5 separate regions of the Homo sapiens genome follow, and regions 1, 2, 3 and 5 are each linked to region 4. Evidence: promoter capture Hi-C in 16 types of primary human blood cells and fetal thymus (Javierre and others, 2016). All regions are on one chromosome and are shown on one strand. Each heading gives the region's core, a stretch centred on a gene start or on the middle of the fragment in contact. The rest is flanking DNA. Distances are from core to core; before and after follow the strand shown.

Region 1 (2,700 bases), core at 183-2,682, 410 kb before region 4:
GTGAAAACACAGAGGGGTCAGGGATTCCCTCATCAAGAGTTCAAGACTAGGCTGGGCTCAGTGGTGCATGCCTGTAATCCCAGCACTTTGGGAGGCCGAGGCAGGTGGATCACAATGGAAGGGGTTCGAGACCAGCCCCTACTAAAATACAAAAATTAGGTGTGGTGGTGCGCACCTGTAATCCCAGCTACTTGGGAGGCTGAGGCAGGAGAATTGCTTGAACCCTGGAGGTGGAGGTTGCAGTGAGCTGAGATTGCACCATTGCACTCCAGTCTGGATGACAGAGTGAGATTTTGTCTCAAAAAAAAAAAAAAGAGTTTAACACTAATTTTTTGAAAGTTAGAGGAAGCAGAATGCACCGCAAGTAATAAGGAGAAACAAGATTGATTCCAGCGCCGCACAAAGGGAAACCACCAATTCTGAAAGTAAATCATGTGAAGGGTTTTTTGTGGGTTTTTTTTATACTTTAAGTTCTAGGGTACATGTGCACAATGTGCAGGTTTGATACATAGGTATACCTGTGCCATGTTGGTTTGCTGCACCCATCAACACATCATTTACATTAGGTATTTCTCCTAATGCTATCCCTCCCCCAGCCCCGACCCCCCCGACAGGCCCTGGTGTGTGATGTTCCCCTTGAAGGGTTTTTTTAAAGACCAGGTCAAAGCTAAAGATCAAGCTTTTCTTTCCAAACGCTTTAGCTAAAAGTAGGAGCTAATTTTCACATCTCCGAAGGTGGCTCCAGGACTCCAAGTCACACCTTGGCAAGGGTGTGGCAGCTGGCAGAGGACTGCAGGTCCTTGTCAGGCAGAACCTGCCGGGTTCTGGGGAGTGGAGACTCAGATCTTGAGGTGGAAGCAGAGACAAGAGCTGGGCACACTTACCTGGATGTGGGGTTGGGAGCGGTGAATCAGAGCCCAGTTAGATCCTGGAGGCTGGCAGCAGGCTCTGCAGAGGTGCAGGGGCACCTCATTCAGAAGGGGCCATTTATTGGCCCTCTGTGGCTAAAACCAGCTCCAAGCAGGACTTTTTATGGCTGGAGTCGCCTCCAAAGGGGCGTCGGCCTCCACTCAGGTGTGACTCTGAGCGTTGCCTAGCTGAAAAGGCGTGATGATAGGGAGCACACGTGAGGCCATTCGGGAAGAATATTTTGCCAAGTGCAGAGGCCGTAAAAACGTGGAACATGGCTCTGTTTTTTATGCTCTATTGAAAATGATCATCAGAAGCAGAAACTGGGCTTGTGTTCAGAACCTGAAAATCTGCAGGGCAGAAAAACAGGACAAAGGCATCTTTTAGTGACTGCAAAACTAAACCTCAACAGAAAGATGCCTGAAGAGACAGGTGGATTATGACCTCAGAATTGGAGACAGGAGAGGTTTTCAGAATTAAAGATCATCTATGGCTACACAAACATTTGAGAGGTATTTTCATTAAAACATCCCTTTCTTCACACCAATATCATGAATTATATGCTATGCACAACCTATAACAGAGTATAGCAGAGTTACCAGTGGTTTAAAGTGCTGCATATATGATTGTTATATGAGGTAAATAAGATTCTCTGACCCAGAGTTAAGAAAATGGAAATAATAATTGCTAAGGCATATTAAGAATTATATATGTATGTGTGTGTGTATATATATATATATATATATATATATATATATATATATATATATATAACATTTAATCCCTACAGCAATACATACCTATAAATGAGTATATACAAATATGTGTGTGTATGTGTGTGTGTGTATATATACTCATTTAATCCTTGCAGCAATCTTATAAGGTAGGGACTATTGCAATCCCCACTTGAGAGAGGCGTACCCTGAAGCACCTGGCAGTAAGGTAACTTGCCCAAGGTCACACAGCTAGTAACAAGCATAGCACGGCCTTGCAGGCCCAGGTGGGTTCCACCACACCGCTTTCCCTGGCAGCAAGAAAATGGAAGGTTTTTGAAGTAGTGGGGGAGTCACCGGGCACAAGGAAGCAGATCCCTGGAGGAACACACAATTAGCAAAAGTGGAGCCCAGGAATAGACGTTACCAGGCATAAGTGATTTTTCCAGACACTGGGAACTTGTGTTTTGAAACACCAAAGTATTTTTAGGAAGCAGAAAAGTTAGCTCTTTCATTGAACTGCTATGTGGTTTTGAAGAAAATGTCCTAATATCCATAAAACTCAAAGCTTTAATCTGCAAGAAGGAAAAAATGTCATGTGCCTCCTACTAAGTTTTTTTTTTCTAAGTAAGTTTTTTGTGTGTGTGTATGTATGAAATAATATATGTGAAAATTTTTTTTTGAGACAGAGTCTCGCTGTGTCACCTAGGCTGGAGTGCAGTGGCACAATCTTGGCTGTCTGCAGCCTCTGCCTCCCAGTCTCAAGCAATTCTCTGCCTCAGCCTCCCGAGTATCCAGGATTACAGGCACCTGCCACCATGCCTGGCTAATTTTTTTTTTGTATTTTTAGTAGAGACGGGGTTTCACCATCTTGGCCAGGCTGGTCTTGAACTCCTGACCTCGTGATCCACCTGCCTCAGTCTTCCAAGTGCTGGCATTACAGGCGTGAGCCACTGTGCCTGGCTGAAAATATTTTTAAAACTATAAAGCAACTATACAATTACACAGCATAAATGATTTTCATTTTTCTTTTTTTTTGAGAAGGAGTTTCACTCTTATTGCCCAGGCTGGAGTGCAG
Region 2 (2,700 bases), core at 1-2,500, 430 kb before region 4:
CCAATATGGTGAAACCTCGTCTCTACTAAAAATACAAAAATTAGCCGGGTGTGGTGGTGCGTGCCTGTAGTAGTCCCAGCCACTCGGGAGGCTGAGGCAGGATAATCGCTTGAACCCAGGAGGCAGAGGTTGCTGTGAGCCAAGATCGCGCCATTGCACTCCAGCCTGGGTGACAGAGCGAGACTCCACCTTAAAAAAAAACTAAAAAAAAAAAAAAAAGATGTGGGAATTTCTGCAGAGACTGTGGGGTGAAGGAGACAGGGAGCAATAATATGGAGATGTCGATTACTTCCATGGCATCAGTTAAGCCCTTATGATATAAAAGGAACAGGGCTGGGCATTGGAAGGGATGAAAAAATGCTAATAGACAAGATAGCTGCCCTCAGGAGTGACAATAGGGTCAGAGAGATAGACCTGACCCACTAAAAAGAGCTCACGCCTGTAATCCCAGCACTTTGGGAGGCCGAGGCAGGAGGATCACTTGAGCCCAGGAGGTCAAGACCAGCCTGGGCAATGAGTGAGTTCCTGTCTGTAAAAAGGAATGAAAAAAAAAAAAAAAAGAAACAATAGAATAAGTGCTAAAGAGAAGCACATGACCTCTCAAAAGAAGAAGCAGTTTGTTGTGACTGGATGGGTCAGAGAAGGTTGCTAGTCCTGACCAAGGGAATGGTGGCTCCACACAGAGTCAAGAGCTGCCTGGGGGCGGGGGTTCAAGGAGCCGAGGTTGAGAGCTGCAGTGGGAGCCAGGAGCTGTCCCCTCACTAAGGGAGAAATGCCCTTCCTCCTCCCGGGAGTCGGCTCTTGCCTCTGTGGCATCTCAGGAAATGGGCCCTTGGGAGTCCACCTCCTCTGCTCATTTCCCACCAGCCCCTTGCCTCACTCCTGTCTCCCCAGCCTAGGGGCCTCCCACACCCCTCCAGGCTGCGGCCATTGTGTGTCCTTTGTCTCTGGGCAGTCCCTCAGATCCCCGCATTCCCCCAGGCCTGCAGAACAGTACTGCTGCTCTCTCATCTCCAGGGTGCTGCCCCGCTGCCTGGGCAGGCGCAGTGGGGGAGCAGGCAGTGAGGCTCTCCACTGGTCTTTGCTCTTCTGTTTCCTCTGCTGCCCCCATGAAGCCTGGCACGTCACACAGCCCCCCACAACCTGCACCTGGCCAGGCCACTCACTCTGCTCGGGCAGTTTCCCTGACTGCCTGACCTGGCACAGCCATGCTCAGGGGCTACTGAACTTTAAGGCTGCCAGAGCGTGCCAGAAGGAAGAACCTTAGGTACTGTTCATTCAGGATCTAGTATTGTCTATTATTATTATTATTTACTGAAGAGGGTCAGAATATGTCACCCAATAGGCCACTTTAGCAGAAGAAATATTTTTAGCTGAAGGCAATTAAGAAGCAGCAAATGAAGAAAGAGCTCTTTGCCCACCTCATCTGCCTAAATTTCCCTTTGTGAAGGTGTCGCCCTCCCCTCTCCCGTACCAGGAGAATCACCCTTACCACCGGAAACAGAAAGTTGTTACCAAGATGGGTCTGCACAAACCAGCCTTATAAAATTGCCCTTATCTTCCATTAGTTTCCCCCATATGTTTGCCTGCCCACAATTTACTGTCCCTAGAAGCCCAAACCCCTTTTCCTTCATCTTGTCACTTCTTCACAATTTATTACCAGTTGTTAAAATGGAATATAAGCCCTCACTCTAACTTCTTTGGTGCTTCACGTCTTTTCAAGGAAGGCCTGCATCTATCTGTGCACATAGCAAATTCTTAGGCCGGGTGTGATGGCTCATGCCTGTAATCCCAGCACTTTGGGAGGCGGAGGCAGATCACCTCGGGCAAATCACCTGAGGTCAGGAGTTGGAGACTATCCTGGCCAACATGGTGAAACCTCATCTCTACTAAAAATACAACAATTAGCCGGGCGTGGTGGTGGGCGCCTGTAATCCCAGCTACTGGGGAGGCTGAGGCAGGAGAATCGCTTGAACCCGGGAGTTGGAGGTTGCAGTGAGCTGAGATCGCGCCACTGCACTCCAGCCTGGGCGACAGAGCAAGACTCCGTCTCAAAAAAAAACAAAACAAAACAAAAAAATTTTTTTAAACTTTTATTTTGCAACAGTCTTGCCGTGTCGTCCAGGCTGGAGTGTGGTGGTGCAATCTTGGTTCACTGTCTGTTTCACTCTTATTCTCTCATGGATGTACAGTAGAATTTTCCTGAAGCTGCATCATGTGTCATATCATTCTGACCGATAATGCCAATCATGGATTATGTGTTTGTATTTAGAATAATTTCTTTCCTTTTTTTTTTTTTTTTTGAGACGGAGTCTCGCTCTGTCACCCAGGCTGGAGTGCAGTGGTGCGATCTCGGCTCACTTTAACCTCCACCTCCTGGGTTCAAGCACGACTCCCGAGTAGCTGGGATTACAGGCACATGCCACCACGCCTGGCTATTTTTTTGTATTTCTGGTAGAGACGGGGTTTCGCCATGCTGGTCAGGCTGGTCTTGAACTCCTGACCTCATGATCTGCTCGCCTCAGCCTCCCAAAGCGCTGGGATTACAGGCATGAGCCACTGCGCCCGGCAAGAAAATTTCTTAATTTTGGCTGGGTGCAATAGCTCACACCTGTAATCCCAGCACTTTGGGGGGCCAAGGCGAGTGGATCACCTGATGTCAGTTGACCAGCCTGGCCAACATGGTGAAACCCCTTCTCT
Region 3 (2,700 bases), core at 20-2,519, 400 kb after region 4:
TAAGTCAGAATCTCCAGGGATTGGACCCAGGTAGCAGGATTTCTAAAAATCTCCCCAGCAGCCAGGCCTGAGAGCTAATGAATAGCACCACAGGGCCCAGCCTTTCAGCCTACAGCTTGTCTCGGTTTCACCCTTTTTTCATTTCTTTACAATGAAAATTCTAAATAGTTGATCACAGTGCCAGACCAATAAGAAAGCATTTTAGGGAGGAGAGAGGAGGGAAGGGGTTGGCAGGCACGGAGAGGACTTGACACACAGAAAGCATTTTGCTATGGAGTCATAACCATTTGATTCTAAGACACATGCAGCCTCCAGAAGTCATGCGGCCCCGCCCTCTGCTTCCAGGAGGGAATGAACTTGGCCGTCCTTTTGTTGCACACGCCCGGGAGCTGCGCCGGCGCAGCGCGCCCTGCAGCCTGGGAGCGCAAGCGTGTGCGCCACTGGTCCTGGGCCACCACCGCGCGCCGCGGGCGGGTGCAGGGCCCCTCTGCCGCAGGGAAACCGGCGTTCCCCGCGCAAAGCAGCCGCTGCTCCTAATGAGCTCATGGGTTCACCGCGCTGAGCTAGCCAGAGCGGACCCGGCTTCGCCAAGGGCCTGCTGGCTGTCCTGACACCTGGCCTACCTCGGGGGTGCCTGGGTACGCTCTTCCTTTGCCTGCGGGATAGAAGCACAATGAAAATGGGGTGGACGTGGCTGGGAGACAGCCCTGCTCTCTGGCAGGCTCTGGGGAGTGTGTGGTACGTGGCATCCGCACTGGTGGGTGTCGTGCGATGATCGAGACACGGATACTGGGTGTCTTTCCCACTAGGGGAGAGAGGGCTGCGTTTAGAGGGAAACGAAATAGATCCGAGAAACACAAAGATGTCACAAAGGAAACGCTTCCCCACCATAAGCAATCTAAATAAATGATTCTTAGAAGACATCCAGCAAAACACATAACCTTGTCATTTAGATTCGCTCGCCCACAGGGGGACTGGAGGGTACTCACCGACTAGGGCTTCACAGCCGCATCACCGCCGGCGGTGGGCGCCTGCCTCGGCAGGGGCAGGGTGGGTGCCCGCAGGGCACAGGTGCCGCCGTGGCTGCTCGCACAACCCCTGCAGCTGCGATCCCGCCCAGTTAGCCTCGGGGGCTGCACAGCCCAGCCCCCTCGCCCAGGGCCCAGGGGTTCTCAGGCCGCGCGGCGAGGACGGAGGGCTGCCCCGGGTGCCTGCCTACGCGGGCGCTCCCCGCCGGGACTCCGCCGGGGCTGCAGGAGCGCGCGCTGCTGGCTGGGCGGGCTGCGGCTCCGCGCGAGCGCCGTGGCAACGCGAGCGGGCGCCCCCAGGAGGCCGCGGAGCTGCGGCGTGGGACGCTTGGGTGAGGCTCAAGCCAAAACCAAACCCAAACCATTTCTCCTCCTCCCCATCTTTTCATTTTCTCCCCTTCTTTTCATTTTCTCCCCTTCTCCAACCCCTTCCTCGACACACGTTACTAGCACCTCGAAGGTTGGAAATTCCAGCACTCTCCTGAGGCCTCTTCCCCAGCGAATCCTGCTAACCACGCAGTCGGTGTTCGCTGTGTGTTCGAGCACACACCTCCTTGCAGTGGCTTCAGCACCCAGGTCTCCGGGAGCCAGTGAAGGAACCAAGTGTTGGATACTGAGCAAGTCGCGTAACATCTGAGTAGTCGTGAAATTGAAATTTCAACGGTATAAAGGACACGACGTTGTCTTACAGATTGAAAAATGCTATAAAATGAAGTTCTTACTGTTACTATGATGATGACCCTGGAGATCAGCGCAGAGCCCTGGGGGAGGGCTACAGTTGCAAGCGCTCCAAGGATCAGATCGCGCACTCCTCCCCACCGGAGAAAACCTCTTGATGCCGGAGCCCGGGCAGCCTCTTCCACACTTCCAGCCAGCCCCTTCCACACTTCCAGCCAGCCCCGGCATTGCCACAGCCCGTGGAGCTGGACAGAAATCCACCAGGCACTAAAATAAGTTAGATGGAAGACGGGATGGATTTGACCAAATTCCTATCAGCATCTGCTCAGTATAATTGCAACATTATAATCAGAGCAGAAAGAAGCCCAGAGATTATTTTGTCTTCAAGGATCATTGGCCTCAGTATTATCTCCATCTGAAGCTGTGTTGTCCAAAGCAGATTGACTCCAGCCGGCCAGCTCAGAAGAGGGCCGACTCTGGGCTGGCGACTCCTTGAGAAGGGCTCTCTCTGGTCCCAGGTGGTATTTACTTAACCGTATCATCATCTGCTTCATTCGTGTTCCCTTCATGTCCATCATGTGAGGACGGGAACTGACAGGGCCAGGGTGTCGGCTCAGAGGCAATCTCTGCTCATCCTCTAGAGCCCCACTTCATCACCCAGCCACTCTGTCCACTGTCTCCCCACCTACAAACCTGCAGGTGTTCTGCCCCAGTACTAGAATAAGGGAACACATTTTTACTGAGCTCTGACAATGTGACTGGGCTTTTCAGGAGCTATTTCATTTAATTTTTAATGTAAAACATTGTTTTACATATTAAGAACCTAAAAGCACAAACAGTAAGTAACTTGCTTGTGGAAGCTTATGCAGCGAGATAAGTGGTAAAGCTGCAATTCCCAGTTTTGTTTGATGCCACAGCTGAAGGTGCAAGGCCATCTGGGCACGGCCTGAGTGGATATTAGGGAAAAATGCCCTAAAAGGTCCAGAATCTCTAA
Region 4 (2,700 bases), core at 20-2,519:
TTACAATCCATTATGATAGAGGGGACTTCCCCAAAATGAAGATTAACAGTACATACAGGCCTGGCGCGTTGGCTCATGCCTGTAATCCCAGCACTTTGGGAGGCCCAGGTGGGAAGATCACCTGAGGTCAGGAGTTCAAGACCAGCCAGGCCAATATGGTGAGACCCTGCCTCTACTAAAAAAAATACAAAAATTAGCCGGGCTTGGGGCGCGAGTCTGTAATCCCAGCTTCTAGGGAGGCTGAGGCAGGAGAATCACTTGAACCCGGGGCGGAGGTTGCAGTGAGCCGAGATCGCGCCCTTGCACTCCAGCCTGGGCGACAGAGTGAGACTCCGTCTCAAAAAAAAAAAAAAGAAAAAAAGAAAAAAACACAGTTCATAAAGTGAACGACCTTGTCAAAACACTGGTTGGAAGCAGGTCTCTTCCCTCCGCACTGTTTCCTATCATATAGCCTTAAGCATTTCCCTCAGGGTTAAAAAAAAAAAAAGTGACAAGGCTGGTTTGTTTTTTTTTTTTCTTTTTCCAGAGGGAGTCTCGCCCTGTCGCCCATGCTGGAGTGCAAAGGCGCGATCTCGGCTAACTGCAACCTCCGCCTCCGGGTTCAGCTTCCCGAGTAGCTGGGATTACAGGCGCGCGCCACCACGTCCGGCTAATTTTCTATTTTTAGTAGAGACCGGGGTTTCACCATTTTGGCCAGGCTAGTCTCGGACTCCTGACCTCAGGTGATCCGGCCGCCTCGGCCTCCCAAAATACTGGGATTACAGGCGTGAGCCACTGCCCCTGGCCACAAGGCTGTTTTCAATCCTTGCACAGATCTCTGTCCGACTAGGCACAGTGAATACCCTTGGAAAACAGGGAATGCTGAGGTGGGAGGCAAAGAGCCAGGGCGTTCAAGAAGGCAGCGCGCAGGCAAGCGGGCAGTGCCCAAGACCCGAGCAAAAGTCACATGAGCTGCGGGGCAAATCTCCGTCCTCAGGCCGACCTCTTGGATCTGGTGACTTGGAGCAAGGGACCTTCCTGCGGCATCTGGGCGGCTCAAGGCCCGCGGCCTTCCCTAGGCGGGCTCCAGCCCACTCCCCGGGACTGCCGCCGCGGCTTCGTAAGACCCAACCAAGCCCCTCACCTGCTTTTGCACGTCAGCATCGCTGAGAGCCATGGCGAGAGCAATGCTAGGCCGGTGAACAGTAGGCTCGAGTTTAGGTTTGAAAGGTGAGGTGAGAGAAATCGGCAAAGGGAACCCCTGCGCAGATCTCGGGTTCCTTTACTTTATAACCGCGGGTTCCGGTTCCTGCCAGGTGACTGCACAGTTCATCCTCATGACCCTTCTCAGCCAATGGGAAGAGAGCGACGCCCAGGAAGTCCCGCCCTGTCCCGGCCTGTGGGCGCGTCCTCGGGTCCTTCTACGTCGCTGACTCGTGACCTGACCGGTATTTTTTTCCTAAACTGGGATCTTGGGTAGGAGGAAGAAAAGATAAGGAGTTCCTCTATCTGAAATTAGTCGGGCTGTTTTGAGGAGTACTGGTTAGGTATATTGGAGAATGTGCCTTTATTGGAATTTTTCGCATAATTACACAGGGTTATGGGCTTAGGGGTACATGATTGTTGGCCGGGCGTGGTGGCTCACGCCTGCAATCCGGAGACTTTGGGAGACCAAGGCGGGTGTATCGCTTGACCTCAAGTTCGAGACCAGGCTGGACAACATAGAGGAACCCCGTCTCTACCAAAAGAAAAAAAAAAGGGGGATACATGATTTCTGACTATTCATGTCAACCTTGATTACCTGAATAAAGTGTAGGGTTTGTAGGTTTCTCCACTCTGAAGTTACCTTTTTTAACCCCCTTTCCATACTGTAGTCTTAGGAAGGAAGCCACTATACAAAGCCCACACCTAGGGAGTGGGAAGCTATGCTCAACTTCCTTATTAGGGTGGAGCAGCTACATAATTTATTTGGAACTTTTCTGAGATAGCCTATATATTTTTCAAAAGCCTTCCCAGGTCCCATTTAGAGGAATATTAGGACAGAAATCCCCCCAGGCTCATTTGTTTTTATTTGGATTTACCTCAAGCCCGTTTTTTTCCCCAAAATCCCAAAGGCAAAAACTTTTGAAAATTCCTTTATCTTTAGGATAGACTGACTCCTAATAGTAGAATAAGAGGTCAAATGGTACACCCACTTTTTTCTTTTTACTGTGCTATGGTTACCCACCATTTTTATTAGCTTTTTATCTTGAAGAAATTTGAGATATAGTAACTTGTAAGAATACTGCATTGACCTCCCTTCACCTAGATTCAACAATTGTTAACATTTTGCTACATGTACATTAACACTTTATTTTCATACACACACACACACACACACACACACACACTTCCTATTTTAGTGTGTCATAAGAACGAGGATGTAGCAAATTCAGGAAATTTAGTTTACTAGGCTGAACATTAATTTCCTTTGTCCCGGGCCAGGCGCGGTGTCTCACGCCTGTAATCCCACCACTTTGGGAGGCTGAGGTGGGCAGATCACCTGAGGTCGGGATTTCGAGACCAGCCTGACCAACATGGAGAAACCCCAGTCTCTACTAAAAATACAAAATTAACAGGCGTGGTGGTGTGTGCCTGTAATCCCAGCCACTGGAGAGGCTGAGGCAGGAGAATTGCTTCAACCCAGGAGCAGAGGTTGCGGTGAGCCAAGATCGTGCCACT
Region 5 (2,700 bases), core at 63-2,562, 500 kb before region 4:
TAACATAACCAACTTGGTTTTATCCCAGGGATGAAAGAAAGAGTTAAAGATGACAACAGGCTGGGCATAGTGACTCACGCCTGTTATCCCAACATTCTAGAGGCCAAGGTGGGAGGAGCGCTTGAAGCCCAGGAGTTTGAGAGCCGCCTAGGCAACATGGCAAGACCTCACCTCTACAAAAAATTAAACAATAAAATTAGCTGGGGTGTGGTGGCACATACCTGTAGTCCCAGCTACTTGGGAGGCTGAGGCGGGAGAATTGTTTAAGCCCGGGAGGTCGAGGCTGCCGTGAGCCAGGACTGCACAACTGTACTGCAACCTGGGTGACAGAGAGAGACCCTGTCTCCAAAAAAAAAAAAAAAAAAAAAGATAAAAACAAAATATATTAATATGGTTTACCATATTAACAGATTAAAGGAGAAGAACACTTAAGATCAACTCAACAAATACAGAGAAACAAACATTTAATATCTATTCATGAATTTCAACAAAAATTGAGCAAAACAAAATTTTTTGCTCTATTGGTCTTGCTCTGTTGTCCAGACCAGAGTGCAGTGGCACAATCATAGTTCACTGCAGGTTTGAATCCTGGGCTCAAGCAACCCTCCTGCCTCAGCCTTCCAAGTAGCTGTGACTACAAGCATGTGCCACCACGCCCAGCTATTTTTTTGTTTGTTTGTAGAGAGAGGGTCTCCCCATGTTGCCCAGGCTAGTCTCAAACTCCTGGACTCAAGAGATCCTCCTGCTTCTGCCTCCCAGAGTGCTGGGATTATAGGTGTAAGCCACCAAGCCTGGCCAGAATTTCTTTATTCCTAGTAAATAGTAATATGGCAACAGAGACAGACTAGATGCTGTTCAATCCCATTTCCTCTTCCTAGACAGAGAAAGACCACATTTCCCATCCTCTTTGCAGTCACATTAGAACCATGTGGCTAGCCAATAAACATGCACACATGTGGCACCCACCACAGCCTGGTTCGGCCATAAATCCCTTCACAGTTATCCATTCACACTCTCTCCCACAGACCTTGGACCCATGTGTGGAAGATGACAGCATCACCAACTGGAGGGTGCCTGGATCCCTGAGTCACCACTTGAAGCAAAAAGGTCAAGAGTAGCCACCTGACCCATATCAGGCTATGAAATGAGTAAGAAAGAAAGATTTTGTGAGGCCACATTTTCATACATGTGTAGGTCTGTTTCTGGGTACTCTCCTTTGTGCCATTGGTTTGTGTCTCTCCCTCTGCCAGTAGTACAGTGTCTTAATTACTGTAACTTCATAAAAATGTTTGATATCTGATAGGCAAGTCCAGGGTCAAGACAGGATGAATTCCTCTAGAACAAGGGAATTTCTCGTTTCTTTTCTTTCTTTCTTTTTTTTTTTTTTTTTTTGAGATGGAGTCTCACTCTGTCATCCAGGCTGGAGTGCAATGGTGCAATCTCGGCTCACTGCAACCTCCGCCTCTCGGTTTCAAGTGATTCTCCTGCCTCAGCCTCCCGAGTGGCTGGGACTACAGGCACGTGCCACCTGCCTGGCTAATTTTTGTTTTGTTTTGTTTTGTTTTTAGTAGAGATAGGGTTTCACTATGTTGGCCAGGCTGGTTTCAAACTCCTAACCTCAAGTGATTCGCCTGCCTCGGCCTCCCAAAGTGCTGGGATTACAGGCGTGAGCCACCGAGCCCGGCCCTCATTTCTTAACACTGCATTTGGTAGGAGAGCAACAGTCATTTATATGTGAATAAATGAAGCCGAAAGAGGAAGTTAGAAAGACCAAAGGGGCCGGGCGCGGTGGCTCCCGCCTGTAATCCCAGCACTTTGGGAGCCCGAGGCAGGCGGATCACGAGGTCAGGAGATGGAAACCATCCTGGCTAACACAGTGAAACCCCGTCTCTACTAAAAATTAAAAAAATAAAATTAGCCGGGGGTGGTGGCGGGTGCCTGTAGTCCCAGCTACTGGGGAGGCTGAGGCAGGAGAATGGCGTGAACCCGGGGGGCGGAGCTTGCAGTGAGTCGAGATCGTGCCACTGCACTCCAGCCTGAGCAACAGAGCGAGACTCCGTCTCAAGAAAAAAAAAAAAAAGAAAGACCAAAGGAAGAAGCAGACAAGAAAGGAAGAAGGAACACCCCTCCCCTCTCCAAAGAGACAGCTCCAGGAACGCCAAGGCTGCTCGCCTAGGGATGCAGAGCCAGAAAGCTCAAATCAGAGGGGGAGGAGGTAGGGAAGGAGTTTCAAGCTAGACTCCTATTCTCTCTCTCCATCCCCTCTCACCCCAAAAAGAGAGAAAATGACACGAGGCTTTGGAACCAAGAGCTGGAGGAACCTGGAAGCGAAAGCTGAGGCTGTCGGCTGCCCAGCAGTTAACACCCTGAGACCATCTTCCCACTTCCAACACCCACAGAAGCTGCCACCCAAGGGCCCCTGTGTCCCCGCATGGCCCACCTCAGCAGTATGATGCAGCACTGGGGAAGTGACAGAATGTGAAAAAAACTATTATAGCTGAGATATTTTAAAATTCCGCCCTCCAGGCAGCATCTGGTTGCTACAGCAACCCCAGCTCTGCAGGGTGTCCCGATTACCAGCAGGCTCCCTGCACCTGCCTCAGGCTGAGAGCAGGCGGCTGCCGCCAAGGGGAACACCAAGGAAATGCCCATGTTCTGATTCCAAGGTAATGGCTCAGACCCAAGGGGATTTTATCTGTT

What was found. The method cuts DNA at HindIII sites, captures the fragments that hold promoters and counts their contacts. A CHiCAGO score of 5 or more calls a contact.
Region 1: a fragment that was not itself captured here is called in contact with the fragment with the promoter of ATP6V1E1 in region 4 in 1 of 17 cell types (total CD8 T cells); the score reaches 5.3 in total CD8 T cells.
Region 2: a fragment that was not itself captured here is called in contact with the fragment with the promoter of ATP6V1E1 in region 4 in 1 of 17 cell types (naive CD8 T cells); the score reaches 5.9 in naive CD8 T cells.
Region 3: the fragment with the promoter of MICAL3 here is called in contact with the fragment with the promoter of ATP6V1E1 in region 4 in 1 of 17 cell types (erythroblasts); the score reaches 5.3 in erythroblasts.
Region 5: a fragment that was not itself captured here is called in contact with the fragment with the promoter of ATP6V1E1 in region 4 in 3 of 17 cell types (neutrophils, total CD8 T cells and total CD4 T cells); the score reaches 10.4 in neutrophils.

What each region holds. Positions count from the first base shown.
Region 1 is chr22:17,220,843-17,223,542 of GRCh38, forward strand. It overlaps a transcript of ADA2 not described here. Among named protein-coding and RNA genes, the nearest start is that of ADA2, 2.8 kb to the left of the region's middle. The HindIII fragment of the contact is 1,511 bases long and covers 678-2,188 here.
Region 2 is chr22:17,193,476-17,196,175 of GRCh38, forward strand. All of the region lies in intron 4 of ADA2 (adenosine deaminase 2), which reads right to left. Among named protein-coding and RNA genes, the nearest start is that of ADA2, 25 kb to the right of the region's middle. RefSeq lists an enhancer at 1,845-2,360. The HindIII fragment of the contact is 7,135 bases long and covers 1-2,700 here.
Region 3 is chr22:18,023,292-18,025,991 of GRCh38, forward strand. It overlaps MICAL3 (microtubule associated monooxygenase, calponin and LIM domain containing 3), which reads right to left and starts at 1,270. Exons shown (of 32, transcript NM_015241.3): 1 at 990-1,270. RefSeq lists a silencer at 998-1,407. The HindIII fragment of the contact is 4,064 bases long and covers 1-2,564 here.
Region 4 is chr22:17,627,480-17,630,179 of GRCh38, forward strand. It overlaps ATP6V1E1 (ATPase H+ transporting V1 subunit E1), which reads right to left and starts at 1,270. Exons shown (of 9, transcript NM_001696.4): 1 at 1,124-1,270. The coding sequence starts at 1,156. It also overlaps a transcript of BCL2L13 not described here. RefSeq lists enhancers at 965-1,114, 1,195-1,284, 1,226-1,395. The HindIII fragment of the contact is 8,319 bases long and covers 1-2,700 here.
Region 5 is chr22:17,129,337-17,132,036 of GRCh38, forward strand. LINC01664 (long intergenic non-protein coding RNA 1664) reads left to right here. Exons shown (of 4, transcript NR_103793.1): 3 at 1,026-1,148; 4 at 2,279-2,700. Among named protein-coding and RNA genes, the nearest start is that of LINC01664, 9.1 kb to the left of the region's middle. The HindIII fragment of the contact is 7,377 bases long and covers 1-2,700 here.